2 separate regions of the Homo sapiens genome follow, and region 1 is linked to region 2. Evidence: promoter capture Hi-C in 16 types of primary human blood cells and fetal thymus (Javierre and others, 2016). All regions are on one chromosome and are shown on one strand. The core of a region is centred on a gene start or on the middle of the fragment in contact, and the rest is flanking DNA. Distances in the headings are between cores, read along the strand shown.

What was found. The method cuts DNA at HindIII sites, captures the fragments that hold promoters and counts their contacts. A CHiCAGO score of 5 or more calls a contact.
Region 1: a fragment that was not itself captured here is called in contact with the fragment with the promoter of SLC14A2 in region 2 in 1 of 17 cell types (endothelial precursors); the score reaches 5.3 in endothelial precursors.

Annotation. Positions count from the first base shown.
Region 1 is chr18:43,620,533-43,624,585 of GRCh38, reverse strand. No RefSeq gene overlaps it. Among named protein-coding and RNA genes, the nearest start is that of SYT4, 350 kb to the right of the region's middle. The HindIII fragment of the contact is 956 bases long and covers 1,083-2,038 here.
Region 2 is chr18:45,613,280-45,617,166 of GRCh38, reverse strand. SLC14A2 (solute carrier family 14 member 2) reads right to left here and starts at 1,691. Exons shown (of 20, transcript NM_007163.4): 1 at 1,585-1,691. All of the region lies in intron 8 of LOC105372093 (a long non-coding RNA gene), which reads left to right. The HindIII fragment of the contact is 14,354 bases long and covers 1-3,887 here.

The DNA.
Region 1 (4,053 bases), core at 311-2,810, 2.0 Mb after region 2:
AATACAAAGAACATAATATATTAAATATTTTATAATATACTTTATTTACAAATAATACAATACAAAGAATATAATATTAAATATTAAAATATATTTTATTTACAAATAAAACCATACAACATACAAAGAACCACATATTGCTTTATTTATTTATTTATAGACAGTGTCTCAGTCTGTTGCCCAGGCTGGAGTGCAATGGCCCAATATTGGCTCACTGTAACCTCAGCCTCTTGGGCTCAAGTAATCCTTCCACCTTAGCCTCCTGAGTAGCTGGGACTATAGGTGTGCCACCATGCCCAGCCAATTTTTATATTTTTTGTTGAAGTGAGGTTTCATTATGTGGTCCAGGCTGGTCTTGAACTCCTGGGCTGAAGCTAGTCACCCACCTCAGTCCCCCAAAATGCTGGGATTATAGGTGTGAGCCACTGTGCTTGGCCTGCATTATTTATTAAGTTCATAGTTTTCCATTTGTATATGTATATTTATTTTTAAATCTTATATCTTTATTTGCTTTCTTTTATTTTTATGGGTGGTTTTTGGTACTTTTATTATGTCTCAGTGCAGCATCTCTTCCAGTTCAAGCTGAGGGTGGAAAGTTGGCTCTCACTTCCACAATCTTATATTATTTCTATCACGTAATTTCATTTTAGGAACACTTGGTATCATCCTTTGGTTTGGGCTTCCAAGAATGATTTCCCCATAATTTTAATGAAAATTTACCTTTGTCCAAAGGGGAGGAGAATATATTGTTTTTGAAATGGTAAATGACTCAAGTGAGGCTTTGAAACATTCTTCCACAAGCTTGTTTGAACTATAGCTTGTGAGACAAACCTATTGCTTCTCATGTGAAAAATCTAAAAGGTGAGGAATATTCTGGCCATTTTGCAGTCTCCTGAAGAAGAAACTAACCAAGGGAAAAAAGCGAGAGAGAGCAAAATAGAGCAAGGGAGCGAGGGCATCAACCATGTGCTTTCTGTCCTATTGGTCCACAATAGCCCTGATTACTTAATTTATTCTGTCATGTCTATTAGCTTTTTTAAAATTTACTGAATTTTTTTAAAAAAACTTTCCTTGGTTAAGCTTCTTTGAGTTTTTGTCACTTGCTCTCAAAAGAATTCTAAGACATCACTCAAATATGATTGAGATATTTATTGCAATTCTGTCATCTTCCTAATGTCATTCTCTTATCTTTTCCTGTCATGTGATAACTAGAATGTCACTAATTTGAAAGGAATGTTTCCTAGATTTTCTATTTTTATAATAATAATAATAGTAATAAATAATAAAAGAACATTGGAAGCAATGAATTTCCCTCCGGGTACAAGTTTGGTTTACTTCACAGGTCCTGTCTTTATTTTTAATATTCCCTATCTAGAATGTATGAGTGCTTATTCTTGTTTTATTTAGATATTAAAGTTTTAATTCAACATAGACAGCATGACTTATAATTTTGTAAATGCTTATTATATTTTCCATGAATCAAAAATTATTAGTAGGCTGATGATCATAGGGTGATAGAGCTGTAGGGTGATGATTTTAGTATATATCCATTAAATATGTTGTGAACTTGCTACTATTGCCTTCTATTGATGAGGACAGTTTTTTGAGAAACTTTGATGCGATAGAATGTTAAGTGCTTATCATTACTTTCTTTAGAATATTTTCCTTTTATATTATATATAGTTATAGTATTTAGTTGTTTGGATGACAAAAATTTATTTTCTTTTCAAATTTCAATGAAGATACCTTATTTTATAATCAGAAAATGAAATATTACAAAGATAATCTATCTTTATTATCTTTATATGCTATTCATATAAATAGGCTGAATAACATCTTACTCGTTGTGTCCTACAATTTGCTTTGTCTGCCTGACATTTATTAGCTGTGTAGGTACAAGTGATTTAACCTCACTGGATCTCAATTTCCTCATCTGTAAGGCATGAATATTAATATGAACTTCATATGATCTGTTTAGGAGTACAAAATGAGGATGTTTCAGTCTGAAGATAAGGTCAATTCAAGAAATAGGAAAGCTTGAAATTTACAGGAATGTTTAATTTTCTGTCATTTTTCTATAGTTCTAAACACAATGCTTTCTCAACCACAAATGCCCAAAGATCAAGAGCGAGCAGAGCACATTATTTCATTGCTCCTGACACAGCTGGATAGGAAACATATCTAAAGTTAAGACCAATAAAATTTACATTCCTCGAACCCTTCATTCTCTAAAATTTGTTCCACCTTCCTGACTTTCAGAGTCACAACATCCTTGTCTGTTTGATGGGCTTAATAGCTCTCCGGGTAGGTTTCATGTGAAAGATTTAATCTTTGACAGACTCAAAGTGGGTGCTCAGTGAATTGTGGAAGTGGTTATGTCTTGCGGGCCAAGTGCATGTAGGGCATGAGGCTGTTGAATGTCTTGGGCAGAATATTGAGCATAACTCAGAAGCCTCTTTCTCTTTCTAGGTCTGTTCCAAACAGAGGTGTATGATCTTGGGGGATATTACTTAATACTTCCAATACTTTGTATCTTCCTCTAATACATTTTTATCAGAATTCTTTCCTGACCACCTCATCTGGTTTTATGAAGACCAAAGGGTACAATGGATGTGACTGAGCTTTGTACTTGCCTACTTTATACTCCATGGTATTGTACTTTGAACACTCCAAGTTTCTTAGCTTGGGAATTGAGACTTTTAATGGTCTGGTCTCCTCTTATTCTGACTAAATTTATTTTATATCCCACCTGAAATCTTTGCCCCAGTCATACTAAGTTACCTGAGATTCCCCTAAGTCACCATTTTTTGCAAAATGGGGTCCCCTGCAGGGAATATTCCCTCCTATGACCTCTCTCTCCCATCTCTCTGTTGGACTTACTGTTTTTGGAAACTTAGGCCCCAACCCTCATGTCATCTCATGCTGAAAAAATATTGAATTTTCCAAGGATGGACTGATATCATTTACCAAATTCTCTTGCCCTTAATTATCTTTGTATTTATTTGTATCTCTCAGAAGTATGTGAGTATGGTTTCCCAGAGTCTACCCTGGAATAAACTGCACAAACTTAAAATTGCATTAGCTTTGTTGAGTAGATAAAATAGCAAACCGTGTAGATACTCAAATATTATTTTAATGATTATAAATAATCATTTCAAATATAAATTTTGAGTAGGTGAGTGGGTAGAGTAAATAGTCTTCGTGGAGCAGGACAATGCAATAATAGATATTTTTTAAAAGTTTAAAAAATTTTTAATTACTGAAAACATATAAGGTGTCATCGGGTAAAAGAATCATATATGATAAGAATGATGTTTTGAGCTGGCAAACTTTTAAAGAAGCTCTTTATTTTCTAAAGCATTCCTTTGCAAAGGAGAAGGGTCAAAGATACCACGCCTCTGTTTCCTGACAATTGCTGGGGCTAGGAAAATCTTTCTTTTGACTCTACTGCCATCTGTTGTTCAAAGAAGTAATCACATTTCTATTATTTTTCAGTGTGACATTAGATCACCTCACCTGCACATCAAAAATGCTAACTTTTGGCCCTACCCCAAAATCTGTTGGGTATGGGCCTGTGGTCTTGCATTTTCAACAAGCTGTCCAGTAAGAAAGGAACATACTGGGCAAAGAACTTAATGTATGCATCCATCGTTAGTGTGTACAAGGCTCTGCACTAAGTAGGGGCTGAGTTTCCTATTATTTAAATGAAAGCACTATCACAGATTTATTCTTGACTCATTGATGCTAGTCTTTTGCTTTCTCTTGAGCCATCCCTACTAGCAGACCAATCCTCACTACCAAGCCCCAACTTGGGTGGAAAAGAATAAATTTTAAACCTCACATCACTTTTTGTTGTATTTTATTTTGTTTTTGCTGGGTTCATTCAAAGATGTATCTATCTCATTAATATGCTAATTTTACTTTTACTTATCCAAGTCTGTGGAAACCATGGGGTAGGAGAAAACCAGTGTTCATTTATTTTTCTCCCATCAATGTTTTCACTTCAAATACTTCTTTCTCTGTTTCTAACATTTTACCTTCATTAAAGACTCA
Region 2 (3,887 bases), core at 442-2,941:
TAGCTTGTGTTTGGAAGAATCTCATAGGAGATCGTCACACCCTTCTTATGTGACACTTTTTTCTTTGTTTTAGATGGAGTCTCCACTGTTGCCCAGGCTAGAGTGCAGTGGCGCAATCTCGGCTCCCTGCAACCTCCACCTCCCGGGTTCAAGCAATTCTCCTGCCTCAGCCTCCTTAGTAGCTGGGACTACCGGCGCACACCACCATGCCCAGCCAATTTTTTGTATTTTAGTAGAGACGGGGTTTCATCATGTTGCCCAGACTGGTCTCAGACTCCTGAGCTCAGGCAATCCGCCCACCTTGGTCTTTCAAAGTGCTAGGATTACAGGTGTGAGCCACTGCACCCGGTCCTTATGTGACACTTCTAAAGTGGGGTGACCCTTCAATGTTCCACATATTGAGCCCTCTCATCCCATGAATAAATGGCAATTTATTTATTGCCTCTTGCATTCCATCAGTTGCAATTATTCAGCCATCGAGTTCTCCTTCAGAGCCCTCAGTCTGGATCAGCCCATTATCTCCCTTTAAGCCAGGCCCTCCCCAACGCAGGTCACCTTCTAGCTGATTTCCCTCACTTCAGTCTCCCCAGTTTTTCTCCACCTTGCCACTGGTGATGGGTAAATTATCTTAAAACATGACTTGGTCGTGCCACTGCTCAAAAACCTTCTGAGGTGCTCCATGTCTGAGTGCTTCGCTCCTGAAACTGGGCATGAAACTCTGAGCCAGAGTAGTCAATGCCCAGGGCACTGAGAAGCACAGTTTTCTGGAATGCTGATTGAGCTTGATATGAACTAATATAGAATAATAGTTGTATATTTAAGCAAACATGGTTTATAAAATAGTCAAATGCAACTCTTTATATTATTAAAATAAAATATAAAGGGAAGAAATGTAGAGTCTGCAGGTGGCTGCTTCAGGCTGTGCCCACCTATTACGTAGGGGTAATGTGTCAATTCTCCCATCAGTTGAGGCTACTTAGGGGGAGAAGTTAAAAAGCTCTGAAGATAGCAACTGTTCTCAATCTCCCTCGGTTCTACCCAGGGGTGCTCCACTTGTGCCCAAGACAATTTTCAGCTTCTCTGCAGTGTGTGCCACTGTTCTGGGCAGGTGGCCTCCTGAGGTCCCACAGCTACCTCCAATTCAGTTCCACATGCACGAATATTGATCTCCTTTACTCACACACATCCTGCTCACACACCCACCCCTAACATGGCCATGGTGCCTTCCTGGCCTCTTAGGAGCATGGTGACCTCTGCTCTGGCTTGTGTGGTGGACTATTTCACAATGTAGTAGTCTCTCTCTCTCCCTCTCTCTCTCTCTCTCTCTCTCACACACACACACACACACATACACCCCTACACATACACACATGCACACATACTTATATACACAAGCTGCCCCGAGGTGGCTCTAGGTAGTTAATTTTAGTGTTATTAGACAGTGGTGGCACAGTGGAGACAGAATACCTGGATTCAAATCCTGGCTCCCCCACTGCAATAGTCCATTCTCATACTGCTATAAAGAACTACCTGAGAGTGGGTGATTTATTAGAAAAAAAAAAAAAAGAAATTTAATTGACTCACACTTCCACATTGCTGGGGAGGCCTCAGGAAACTTACAGTCATGGTGGAAGGCGAAGGGGAAGCAAACTTGGACCTTCTCAAATGGCGGCAGAAGAGAGAGATGGTGTGGAGCAGGAACTTGCCAAACACTTATAAAACCATCAGATCTTGTGAGAATTCACTCACTATCACGAGAACAGCATGGGGGAAACCGCTCCCATGATCCAGTCACCTTGCCCTGGGTCCTGCCCTCAACATATGGGGATTACTGGGATTACAATTTGAGATGATATTCAGGTGTGGACACAGAGCCAAACCATATCATTCTGCCCCTGGCCCCTCCCAGATATTATGTTCTTTATACATTTCAAAACAAAATTGTGCCTTAGCAACAGTCCCCCAAAGTCTTAACTTATTCCAGTATTAACTTGAAAGTCAAAGTCCAAAGTTTCATCTGAGGCAAGGCAAGTCCCTTCCACCTATGAGCCAGTAAAATCAAAAGCAAATGGCCGGGTGCGGCGGCCCACGCCTGTAATCCCAGCACTTTGAGAGGCCGAGTCGGGTGGATCACTTGACGTCAGAAGTTCGAGACCAGCCTGGCCAATGTGGTGAAACCCTGTCTCTACTAAAAATACAAAAATTAGCAGGGTGTGGTGGCACACACTTGTAGTCCTAGCTACTGGGAGGCTGAGACAGAAGAATCTCTTGAACCTGGGAGGTGGAGGTTGCAGTGAGCCAAGATAGTGCCAATGTACTCCAGCCTGGGTGACAGAGCAAACTGTGTCTCAAAAAAAAAAAAAAAAAAAAAAGCAAGTTAGTTACTTCCAAGATACAGTGGGGGTGCAGGAGGCATTGGATAAATGCTCCCATTTCAAATGGGAGAAATTGGCCAAAACAAAGGGCTACAGGCCCCACGCAAGTCCAAAATCCAGTGGTGCAGTCATTAAATCTTAAATCTCAAAAATAATCTCCTTTGACTCCATGTCTCATATCCAGGTCATGCTGATGCAAGAGGTGGGCTCCCACAGACTCAGGCAGCTCTGCTTCTGTGGCTTTGCAGGGTATAGCTCTCCTCCTGCTGCTTTCGCAGGCTGGTGTTGAGTGTCTGTGGCTCTTCCAGGTGCAGAGTGCAAGCTGACAGTGGATTTACCATTCTGGGGTCTGGAGTACGGTGGTCCTCTTCTCACAGCTCCACTAGGCAGTCCTCCAGTGGGGACTCTGTGTGGGGGCTCCAACTTCACATTTCCCTTCTGCACTGCCCTAGCAGAGGTTCTCTATGAGGTCTCTACCCCTGCAGCAAACTTTTGCCTGGACATCCTGGCGTTTCATACATCCTCTGAAATCTAAGTGGAGGTTCCCAAACCTCAATTCTTGACTTCTGTGCACCTGCAGGCTCAACACCACATGGAAGCCGCCATGGGTTGAGGCTTGCACCCTCTGAAGCAATGGCCTGAACTGTACACTGGCCCCTTTTAGCCATGGCTGGGATGCAGGGTACCAAGTCCCGAGGCTGCATAGGGCAGTAGTGGGGCCCTGGACCAGCCCATTGTTTTTCCTCCTAGGCCTCTGGGCCCAGGATGGTAGGGTTGCTGCAAAGTTCTCTGACATGCCCTGGAGTAATCTTCCCCATTGTCTTGGCGATTAACATTTGGCTTCTGGTTAGACAAATTTCTGCAGCCAGCTTGAATTTCTCCCCAGAAAATGAGTTTTTCTTTCCATCACATCGTCAGGCTGCAAATTTTCCCAACTTTTATGCTCTACTTCTCTTTTAAACATAAGTTCCAATTTCAAACAATCTCTCTGTAAATGCATAAAATTGAATCCTTTTAAGAGCACCGAGGTCACCTCTTGAATGCTTTGCTGCTTAGAAATTTCTTCTGCCAGATATCCTAAATCGTCTCTCTCAAGTTCAAAGTTCCACAGATCTCTAGGGAGGTGGCAAAATGCCACCAGTCTCTTTGCTAAAGCATAGCAAGAGTGACCTTTACTCCAGTTCCCAACAAGTTCCTCATCTCCATTTGAGACCACCTCTGCCTGGACTTCACTGTTCATATCACTATCAGCATTTTGGTCAAAATCATTCAGCAAGTCTTTAGGAAGTTCCAAACTTTCCCACATCTTTCTATCTATCTTCCTCCGAGCTCTCCAAACTGTTCCAACCTCTGCCTGTTACCCAGTTCCCTACTTGCTTCCACATTTTCAAGTATCTTTATAGCACTGTCCCACTATCTTGGTACCAATTTACTGTATTAGTCTGTTTTCATACTGTTATAAAAACTGCTGGCCAGGCGCAGTGGCTCACACCTGTAATCCCAGCACTTTGG